Regions from separate parts of the Homo sapiens genome. Here all the other regions are linked to region 1. Evidence: promoter capture Hi-C in human tissues and cell types (Jung and others, 2019). All regions are on one chromosome and are shown on one strand. The core of a region is centred on a gene start or on the middle of the fragment in contact, and the rest is flanking DNA. Distances in the headings are between cores, read along the strand shown. Region 1 holds the start of EMC4 (ER membrane protein complex subunit 4). Region 2 overlaps KATNBL1 (katanin regulatory subunit B1 like 1). Region 3 has its middle 23 kb from the start of PGBD4.

Region 1 (3,548 bases), core at 544-3,043:
TGCATACTCTTTGATCCAGCAACTCCAATTTCACTTCTAGGACTATAACTTTAGGAAATAAGAAAAGACATACAGATATGTTCACAGCAACACTGGTTATAAAAGGAAGGAAAACAGGAAACAATTTAAATGTCCAATAATAGGCTATATTATGAAAAAGGTATACCATACAAAACCCAATCACTTTAAAGAATGACATACATTATTTAATGACACGTCATTAAAAACACATCAATGGTGTTATTTGGTAATGATGTGATACATCATTAAAAACACCACATAACCTAGCACTTTGGGAGGCCGAGGCAGGCAGATCACCTGAGGTCGGGAGTTCGAAACCAGCCTGACCAACACGGTGAAATCCCATCTCTACTAAAAATACAAAATTAGCTGGACGTGGTGGCGTGCGCCTGTAATCCCTGGTACTCGGGAGGCTGAGGCAGGAGAATTGCTTGAACCCGGGAGACGGAGGTTGCAGTGAGCCGAGATAGTGCCATTGCACTCCAGCCTGGGCAACAAAAGCAAAACTCCGTCTCGAACAAAAACACAAACAAACCAAACACCAGATATGTGGTGGGCACTAATCTCACAAGCCTTGAAAGTAGGTAGATTATCCAACTTTTACATGAAGAGGCTGAAACAAATTCAACTTGCCCAAGGTCATACAATTATTAAGTGGTGAAACCAGGATTCAAAAGGAGGCCATCTGCTGGGTGCAGTGGCCCATGCCTTTGTAATCTCAACATTTTGGGAGGCCAAGGCAGGAGAATCACTTGAACCCAAGAGTTTGAGAGCAGCCTGAGCAACATAGCGAAACCCTGTCAAAACAAAACAAAACAAAACAAAACAAGACTGGGGCGTGGTGGCGCGCCCTGTGGTCCTAGCTCCTCGGAACGCTCAGGTTGGAAGGAACGCTCAGGTGGGAAGATCGCTTGAGCCGGGGAAGTCGAGGCTGCAGTGAGCCGTGATAGCGCCACTGCACTACAGCCTCGGCAACGGAGTGAAACCCTGTCTCAAAAAACAAACCCAAAACAAACAACAACAAACGCAGGCTAACTGAATACCGAGCCCATGTCCCCTTCCATGCCCACAATGCTGCCTTGCCTTTGTGCAGAATGTGGTTAGAACTGTTTACCTCGCAAGGTTACTGTGCAAGTGAAATGAAATAAACACATGACACAGTGGACATTCAATACTCAGAAACTACTAAGTAACTCGCTCAAGGTCAAGCTAGGATTTAAACCCAGGATTTGAATCTTTTGTTCCAGGGAGCGCGTAGGAGGTTAAGAAGCTTTTCTTGGCTTCCTTTTTTTTTTTTTTGAGACAGAGTTTCGCTCTTGCTGCCCAGGCTGGCGTGCAATCGCTCGGTCTCAGTTCACTGCAACCTCCGGCTCCCGGATCCAAGCGATTCTCCTGCCTCAGCCTCCTAAGTAGCTGGGATTACAGGCGCCCGCCACTAAGCCCGGCTAATATTTTGTATTTTTAGTAGAGACGGGGTTTCACCATGTTAGCCAGGCTGGTCTCGAACTCCTGACTTCAGGTGATCCGCCCACCAATTCTTAACGCTGAGTCAGTATGGGCTTTCCTTCAGCCCCATAAAGTGCACCTCAGAGGTCAGGGAACACATAACAAGGACATTCAAAAGGGGAGCGCGCGGAAGTGGCTTTAGGAAGCACTAAGTCTTGCCTGGTTTTTTTTCCTCCCTGCTTTTCTAAATCCAAACCCGGACTCCTCAACCCACAGCACCACCAATTTCCAGGGCGGAAATGACGTCGTATTCACGCGCCGGAAGTGCATTTGCAGAGTGAGACAAAGCGGAGAACGCTGGTGGGCCTGTTGTGGAGTACGCTTTGGACTGAGAAGCATCGAGGCTATAGGACGCAGCTGTTGCCATGACGGCCCAGGGGGGCCTGGTGGCTAACCGAGGCCGGCGCTTCAAGTGGGCCATTGAGCTAAGCGGGCCTGGAGGAGGCAGCAGGTGAGGCACCTGGGCAAGCTGTACATCACTGTTCATCCCAGAACTGCACCAGAGTAATGAGACCTGAGCCCTCAGGCATAACTCTGAAAAAGATGGGTGGCACACAGACATCACCTGGGGAGGTAGCGGCTTTTCTGCCGTGGAAGTTTCTCTGCTCAAACAATGCTTACATCAGTCCTCCTGATAAGTCAAAGGACTGAGGAACATACGAGGGGGCTTGGTCTAATCTGAGTAGGTGCATCTGAAGATCTTTATTCCTATGATTGGTAGATCAGGAAATGTGGGATAAGAAGTATCGGAGGTTGCAGCTTTAGTTTCTTGGTTTGGTTTTTTAGGGGTCGAAGTGACCGGGGCAGTGGCCAGGGAGACTCGCTCTACCCAGTCGGTTACTTGGACAAGCAAGTGCCTGATACCAGCGTGCAAGAGACAGACCGGATCCTGGTGGAGAAGGTACAGAGGTATAGATGTTACCGTAGCCCATGGGCCAGTCCTGAGTTACACACTCATCCTCTTCTCCTAGGTGGAGTTAACGTAGATAGCTCTTATCCTGAAGATTTGGAAACTAAACTGCTTGAGGCTGGTATTTCGGTATTTTATATATCAGCTACAAAAGTGCTTAATAATTTGAAAAATAGAAGATGTTTGGAACATAAGGTATAAGAAAGTAGGTTGAAAACTATCTTTTGGTGGCAACATCTTCCAGTTGAAGTGATCCTTTTTCTACTCTGGTTCCCTTACACCACATATCCAACTGTCAGGATACTCTGTTGGCTTTACCTACTACTTTTTCCTGTGTTCACCTCTCATCCTAATCCAAGCCACCATCCTTCATCTAGATTTCTGCAGTAGCCCGGCTAATTTTTGTATTTTTAGTACAGACAGGGTATCACCATGTTTGCCAGGCTGGTCTTGAACTCCTGACCTCAGGTGATCCATCCGCCTTGGCCTTCCAAAGTGCTGGGATTGCAGGCATGAGCCACCGCGCTCGGCCCGGGGCTATTTATATTTCTAATTTCTCCTGTCATTTTGTTACATTTTTTCTAGAAACTTATCCATTTCCTAAAATTTCAAATGTATTGATATAAAGTTGTTCATAATATGATCACTTCCATATATGCAAGATCTGTGATGTTCATTTTTTCATTCCTGATATTGAATATTTTGTCTCCTCTCCTTTCTTCATCAGGCTCACCAGTATTGATTTTTTAAAAATTATTTTCATTTATTTTTACAGGTCACTGTACCCATCACCAGTATTGATTTTATTAATCTTTTCAAAAATACTTGGGTTTTTTTCTAGTTTCTTGAAATGGATGCTTAGTTTATTTTTAGACTGCCATTACTTTTTTTCTTTTCTTTTGAGACAGTCTTGCTGTTGTCGCCGAGGCTGGAATGCAATAGCACGACCTTGGCTCACTGCAACCTCTGCCTCCCAGGGTCAAGCAATTCTCCTGCCTCAGCCTCCCGAGTAGCTGGGATTATAGGCACCCACCACCACGTCCAGCTAATTTTTTTGTATTTTTAGTAGAGACGGGGTTTCACCACGTTGGCCAGGCTGGTCTGAAACTCC
Region 2 (3,737 bases), core at 577-3,076, 75 kb before region 1:
TTGCATAATCACAGCTTACTGCAACCTCCAACTCCTGGGTTCAAAGTGATCTTCCCAAGTATCTGGGACCACAAGCACGTACCACTGTGCCTGGCTTATTATTTTTATTTTTTGTAGAGATGGAGTCTTGCTATGTTGCTCAGTCTCTCACTCCTGGGCTCAAGGGACTCTCTCACCTCAACCTTCCCAAATGCTGGGATTATAGGCAAGAACTGCCACACCTGGCCTCAAAAGGGATTTTTAGAAGGTTAGTTTTCCCATATCGTTATCTCTTAGTTTTATAGGTAAGAATGACAGTCAGGAAAGGTAACAGCTTTGTTCAATCTGATAAAACATTGTTTTCTGTATTTTGGTTACTCTTAGATGGGTGAGGAATGTAATTTAAGCCATACTGTCTCTACTGAAGCTACATATAGGCAGTTTAGAATAATGAAGAAGGTTCACCTGAGCTCAGGAGTTCGAGACCAGCCCGGGAAACATAAGACCTCATGTCTTCCAAAAAATTTTTTTAAAAAATAGCCAGGTGTGGTGATGTGCACCTGTACTCTCAGCTACTCAGGAGGCTGAGGTGGGAGGGCTGCTTGAACTCAGCAGGTTGAGGCTGCAGTGAGCCATGATTGTGCCACTGTACTCCAACTTGGATGACAAAGCAAGAACTTGTCTCAGAAAAAAAGTGATTGAACAAAGAGGATAAAAGGTCACACTTACCTCAACAAATAAGCTACAAGTTCACTTATACTTCTCTTTCTCCAGAAAGTTAAAGCTACATTCAATCTCATATTCCTGCTGAACAAAACTTGGGCCATTGTTTCATGGTCCTGAGAAACCTGAAAGGCAATAATCTGATTTGTTAAAAAGCACACTGAAACAGGGTATGAAACTATTTTTTTATTAAATCGTTCTGGTAGACATAGTTAAAAATCATGCAAAAGTAACTCCTTTTACTAGCCCACAAAAAGGAATACTGCAGTTGACCACAGTAAACAAATGATCTGAACAAATTTAAGACCCATTTATACTTTTCACTAGCTACCATTTTTCTTTTAAAACCCAATAATTTATAAAATTATTTTTAGCTGACCTATAAACTAGGACTTAATTTATAACATGGATAAAAGAAAAATGTAAACATGTAGGCTAGTCATTACCAACTGAATGGCAGGAGAATCACAAAAACTCAGTTTTTGACAAGTGTTGTAGTATCATTTAAATTTATCTATTTATTGTTAAGTAATGAAGTGTCATTTTCCTGTTCTAATGTGTTTAACACAGAACTATGTAAGATAAAAAGTAAAAACTCTCTGCCTGCCCACAAAAACATCCAATATCACTCCGCAGAAATAATCACAGTTAACAGACTGATATGTATCTTTCCAGACCATTTTCTAGACAAAGACAAATTAAGTACACATATAAACACTCTGAAAAATTAATTACCTATATTGTTCAAAACCTTGCTTTTTTACCTATATGAACATTTTTCAATGTCAAAACACAGATCAAGCTTTTTTTTTTTTGGAGACAGGGTCTTGCTCTGTTGCCTAGGCTGGAGTGCAGTGGTGCAATCTCAGCTCACTGCAACCTCCGCCTCCCAAGCTCAAGTAATTCTCCTGCCTCACCCTCCCCGAGTAGCTGGGATTACAGGCACCCAACACAACACCCAACTAATTTTCCTATTTTTAGTAGAGATGGGGTTTTGCCATGTTGGCCAAGCTGGTCTCCAACTCCTGACCTCACATGATCCGCCTGCCTTGGCCTCCCAAGTGCTGGGATTACAGGCATGAGCCGCCACACCAAGCCCAACTTTACTTTTAAAGAACAACAGCATAGCCTGGCATAGTGCTGTGTGCCTACAGTCCCAGCTACTTGGGAACCTGAGGTGGGAGAACCACTTGAGCTCAGGAGTTTGAGTCCAGCCTGGGAAAGACAGTGAGACAGTGAGACCTCATCTCTTAAAAACAACAACAAAAAACAATAGCATATTCTCTAGTCTTTACATACCATAATTTATTTAGATTCTGGTTTTTACCTATCAAAACTGATGAGTGGACATCCTGATATATGTAAATATGTGCACTTGTACAGACACTTTTGTTAAAATTAATTTTACAATTGGAACAGCTAGGTCAATGGTTATATGTATTTTAACTTGGCTAAGATGTTATGGTATCACTTTCAGATTTAGGTTTTTAGAGCAGGTACTGGTCAATCAAGAAAACAGGTATGAAACAAGAATAATCATTAAACCTATTAGTTAAATGTAAGGTTTAGTGAAAAGTAGTGAAAATGAGAATGTAAAGTAAAAAGAGGTTCTTGAGAAAGATGTCTCACTGGGGTAGTTTTTAAAATGCACAACTGAAACTTTTTAAAAAGAACTTTTATTCTGGCCAGGCACAGTGGCTCACACCTGTAATCCCAGCACTTTGGGCTGGGGCTGAGGCAGGTTGATCGCTTCAGCTCAGTAGTTCGAGACCAACCTGGGGAGCATGGCAAAACCCTGTCGCTATAGGAAATACAAAAATCAGCTGGGTGTGGTGGCACATGCCTGTAGTCCCAGTTACTCTGGAGACTGAGGTGGGAGGATTGCTTGAACCTGGGAGGTGAAGGTTGCAGTGAGCCAAGATTGCACCACTGCACCCCAGCCTGGGTGATAGAGCGAGAGACCCTGTTTCAAAACACAAAACAAAACAAACTTATTTTATGTTCAGGGGCACATGTGCAGGTTTGTTATATAGGTAGTTTGCATGTTGTGGGGGTTTGGTGTACAGATTATTTCATCACACAGGTAATAAGCATAGTAACTGATAAGTAGTTTTTTGATCCTAACTCTCTTCTCACCCTCTACCCTAAGGTAGGCCTCATGTCTGTTGTTCCCATCTTTGTGTCCATATGCACTAGCACAGTGTTTAGCTCCCACTCCAACTGAGAACATGAAGCATTTGGTTTTCTGTTCCTGTATTAGTTCGCTTAGGATAATGGCCTCCAGGTTCACTCGTGATTGCAAATGACATGATCTTGTTCTTTTTATGGCTGCATATAGTATTCCATGGTGTATATGCACCATATTTTCTTTATCCAGTTTACCATTGATGGGCATTTCGATTGATTCCTTGTCTTTGCTATTGTGAACAGTGCTGTGATGAACATACGCATACATGTGTCTTTATGGTAGCATGTTTTATATTCCTTTGGGTATATATCCAATAATAAGATTGTTTTAAGTTCTTTGAAAAATTGTCGCACTGCTTTCACAATGGCTGAAACTAAATTACATTGTCACCAGCATTGTATAAGTGTTCTTTTTCCACAACCTTGCCAGAATCTATTATTTTTTGACTTTTTAATAATAGCCATTCTAACTGGTATGAGATGATATCCTGTTGTGGTTTTGATTTGCATTTCTCTAATGATGAGTGATTTTAGGTTTAGCATTTAGGCTGAGCATTTTTTCATATGCTTGTCACCTACATGTATGTCTTCTTTTGAAAAGTGTCTATTGTGTCCTTTGCCTACTTTTTTTTTTTTTTTTTTTTTTTTTTTTTTTTTGAGACAGAATCTCACTCTGTAACCCAGGCTGGAGTGCAGTGACAAGATCTTGGCTCACTGCAACCTTTGCCTCCCGGGTTCAAGCAATTCTTGAGCGTCAGCCTCCCAAGTAGCTGGCATTACAGGCGTGCACCACCACGCCTGGGTAATTTTTGTATTTTTGGTAAAGATGGGGTTTTGCCATGTTGGCC
Region 3 (3,972 bases), core at 38-2,537, 100 kb before region 1:
AATTATACTATAAAATTAGACAAGATGATTTATAATTTGTTAGTTATAATTTTGCTATTCCCAAACTTCCTGTGAGGCCCTGACTAAACTGACAAACCTGAACATTGTAATTCCTAAAACAATAACAAAACCCTACCACTCACAGACCTCAATGATTCTCAAACTTATGTGTGTGTGAGAATCACCCGGGGAGTGTAATAAACATCAGATGCCTGGGCCCCACCCCTGGAGATTCTAACTCGGTTGGTCTGGAATGGGGCCCTGGGCAGTTCCATGTTTACAAGCTTGTGATGTCATTCCGATGTGCCGCAAGTTTGAGAGCTGCTGGCCTATCTCAGGGGAATAGCATTTGCATTAAATAAGTAGTCTAGTAAAGCTCTTAGAAAACAAAGCATAATGCTTCCTTTGTGGCTATTAGTCATTAGCGACTTTCCAGAAGCAGAAATGGTATGTCCATTTATCACGATACTAACAAATTTCTGTCTAGCTTTGACTCAACAGTTAAAACAGTGCAGGGGTTAAGAACACACACACAGGATATGGGGTCAAACCAGGGTTTGAATCCTGGCTGTGTCAATTACTAGCAGTGAGACCTTGTCCAAGTGGCTTCATGTTGAGCCTTAGTTTCTGCATGTGGAAAAAGGAACTAGAGTACTTATTTATCTCCCAGGATTGTATGAGGATTAAATGAGAGAATGTAAATAAGGCACCTACCACAGCTATAGGCAAGTGAAAAGCAATCAATAAATGGAACTATTGGCCAGGCGTGGTGGCTCACAACTGTAATCCCAGCACTTTGGGAGGCCGAGGCAGGCGAATCATGAGGTCAGGAGTTCGAGAACAGCCTGGCCAACATGGTGAAACCCCATCTCTATTAAAAATACAAAAATTAGCCAGGCGTGGTGGCAGGTGCCTATAATCCCAGCTACCTGGGAGGCTTAGGCAGGAGAATCACTTGAACCCGGGAAGTGGAGGTTGAAGTAAGCTGAGATCGCACCATTATCCAGCCTGGGCAACAAGAGTGAAACCTTGTCTCAAAAAAAAAAAAAAAAAAGGAACTATTATTATTATGTTGACTAATTACTAGATGATTTCAGTGTGACCTTGCTGTGATTAATGCAGGATTAGAAACAGGATCAACTTAATATGATCATATTAAGCTTTCTGTGACCATATATTTGTTCTGGAAAGGGTGAAACATACAAGTGTGTATATTATACACACTACAAACAAATGTTTTATCTATTTTAAAGTAAGTAATTATATTTAGTCTCTTCCATTCTTAATGTGTTTATATCACTTACAAAAATACTTCCATATCACATAGGGAGATCATTTTACAGAAGAAAATGAATGGCATGAGATGGCCACCTGTTTCATATTCTAGGCAACACAGCAGTCACAAGCTATGGAAATCCAAGATTTAGGAGACTGGTTTTATATCCTAAGCCAAAGTTATCCCTCAAAACCAGAATGCTTTTTAAAAATAAAAATAGTCTTATGGTGATGAAGGCATATGTCTATAATACCAGACCGAAAAGTGATAATAGTAATCAGCAAGCAGAATTAACCACAGTTTTTTTAGTTATAGTGCTCTGGCCTATTACATTAAAATGAACAATTTTTCAGATAAAGAATCTTCAACTACATTTCCAGTGGAGAAATTCAATTGCCCTATCCTAGACTTATGCAACTCTGGTTCTCAAAGGTCCCTAATTTTTATCTGTAAGAACAACTTTTTATTTCCTAGATACTTTATGATTCCAAATGGGTAGGGGTAGGGGTGAGGCGAGGGCAGAAACTGTCCCAGAAGTCAGCAGTGAAGTCCCTGAACAGAGATGGACAGTGCTGATGATAGAGTCGGTCAGCTCCCTACTTTTGCCCTTCTCTTGGAGCTGGTCAGAGGCATAACCAATATGGTGAGAAAAATGGCTTTCATGCAAGATCTACTGGCAGAGATCCTGATGGGCTGCTGGAGGTCCCCTGGGTTTATAATTATCAGCACACATCTATGGAACAATGCAACTGTAAAGCGTACTGTGCTAGGTACCCATACAGAATAAGTACCTTACATTAATTCTGCGACAAAATATGCAGTCTTACAATTAATGATCCATGTGTGAGGGAGTGAATCCTAATGGCAGTAACAGAGGGTTTGCAGATATGCTCATTGACAGCATGGCAGGGTCCTGTTACAGGAGTTCTATTACGGAATGAATCTTCTCTTGATAGAAAAACAGGTGCTGGTTGGTGGCTACAGCCAAGAAGGATGAATGACTGATAGGAACAGGCACCTGGGTCTCGTCTGAATATTCTAGTTTATTTTAAACACCCAGTAGCTCTTTGTTCCTTTATTCATTTATTCAACAAATTTTTATTGAACATTTCTTATTATATTTAGGTTGCACAGAGCAGGGAGCTGGAGTTACAATGGTGAGTTAGACAAACATTGATCCTACCTAAGAGGCTACTGACAGGTAAATAAGTAAAATTTAGTATAGCCAATTATACTTATGTACCATGATGGGGGAAGAACAGGATACACTCAGAGCACAAAGAAGGGGCACCCAACACAAAAATTTGAAGAGAAGAACAAGCTAAGACTTGAAGATTCAAGAAAGAGTTATTTTCAGAGAAGGTGGGAGGATGGATGAAGGGAAAAAGGCAGAGACAGGAGTGAGTGTTCTCCGCAGAGAAAAACAGTAAGTTTGAAGGCCTGGACTGAAATTGCAGGGTATGTCCAACCAAATGGCCCAAGAGTACCCTGGCATACGGTGGAGTATGTATGTGTGTGATGTTGAGATGAGATGAGGGTAGAAAGCAAAGCCAGGAACAAGAAGAAGCTAGTGGCCAGGCACAGTGGCTCACAATGGTAATCTCAGCACTTTGGGAGGCCAAGGCAGGAAGATTGCTTGAGTCCAGGAGCTCGAGACCAGCCTGGGCAACATAACGAGACCCTGTCTCTACAAAACAAAAGAAATATTAGCTGGGCAGTCCCTGCTACTCAGGAGGCTGAGGCTGAAGGATCCCGTGAGCCCAGGAGTTCGAGCTGCAGTGAGCTATGAGCTATGATTACATCAGGGCACTCCAGCCTGGGTGACAGAGAGACCCTGCCTCTTAAAAAAAAAAAAAGTAACATACAGTAATTTCTGAAATTACTAAAACTATACAAGGTGCCAGGAAGTTCCAGTTAGGTCACTAGCAGCAGTAAGTTGATGTCATTAAATCTGAGCAGATTCTGTGTAAAGTTGAAGAGTGATGGGCTCTTCGGTTTCTATGCTAGCTATTGATGCTTCCTCCCTGTATCCTGTTAAAGCCTATCTATTCCCAACTAACTGTAAAATATAAGGAACACAGCAGTTTCGTCAATGTGAGTAAGAAAACTATTCAATTAGTAGACAACAATAAAGGAATTCTGTCCACAGAAAGCCTATAAAGTATTTGAACAAATTTGGTATTTGATATATATTGCCTGAACTACTAGCCTAAGTGCAAAGATCATGTTTTCCCAGATTCCTCCAGACTGAAGTAATCAACCCTTAACCAGCTGCAGCCAGCAAAAATAACATAAACAAAAACAACAAACACAAGCATACTCCTTCCACTCACATGCTTTATACTACTTTTTACTTAAAAAAAAAAAGTGTATCTTCCAATAGAGTCCACAAAGCCTCAAGCAGCAGGAACATGTAATGGGGTCTGTTTTGTCTGTTTTCTATGAAGGCATGATTTTACATATCAGCATTTATGTGCATAACAATCTGTCGGCAACAATACACCTGAAAATTTGATTTGGAGTTTGTAGTTTCCCAAACTTTTGTGTTGATACAGACAGAAAAAGTGAAGTAGTAGGAGATTCTAAACAGCTCAACCCAAAGAATTTCATCCTCAATATGAACAAAAGAGAGTTGCCAGAGGGCCCCTAATTATGCTTATTTCAGGTGCCTCTCCCCTTCCAAAAACATGTCATTT

The links. Contacts are between HindIII fragments. The study calls those that stand out against the background at their distance.
Region 2: a contact is called between a fragment that was not itself captured here and the fragment with the promoter of EMC4 in region 1, in 2 of the 25 tissues and cell types used here (H1 embryonic stem cells and liver).
Region 3: a contact is called between a fragment that was not itself captured here and the fragment with the promoter of EMC4 in region 1, in 2 of the 25 tissues and cell types used here (IMR-90 fibroblasts and hippocampus).

What each region holds. Positions count from the first base shown.
Region 1 is chr15:34,223,223-34,226,770 of GRCh38, forward strand. It overlaps EMC4 (ER membrane protein complex subunit 4), which reads left to right and starts at 1,794. Exons shown (of 5, transcript NM_016454.4): 1 at 1,794-1,978; 2 at 2,314-2,428. The coding sequence starts at 1,893. RefSeq lists an enhancer at 2,108-2,157. The HindIII fragment of the contact is 15,250 bases long and covers 334-3,548 here.
Region 2 is chr15:34,147,924-34,151,660 of GRCh38, forward strand. It overlaps KATNBL1 (katanin regulatory subunit B1 like 1), which reads right to left. Exons shown (of 10, transcript NM_024713.3): 5 at 709-827. Among named protein-coding and RNA genes, the nearest start is that of PGBD4, 48 kb to the left of the region's middle. The HindIII fragment of the contact is 4,691 bases long and covers 1-3,737 here.
Region 3 is chr15:34,122,620-34,126,591 of GRCh38, forward strand. No RefSeq gene overlaps it. Among named protein-coding and RNA genes, the nearest start is that of PGBD4, 23 kb to the left of the region's middle. The HindIII fragment of the contact is 3,704 bases long and covers 1-3,139 here.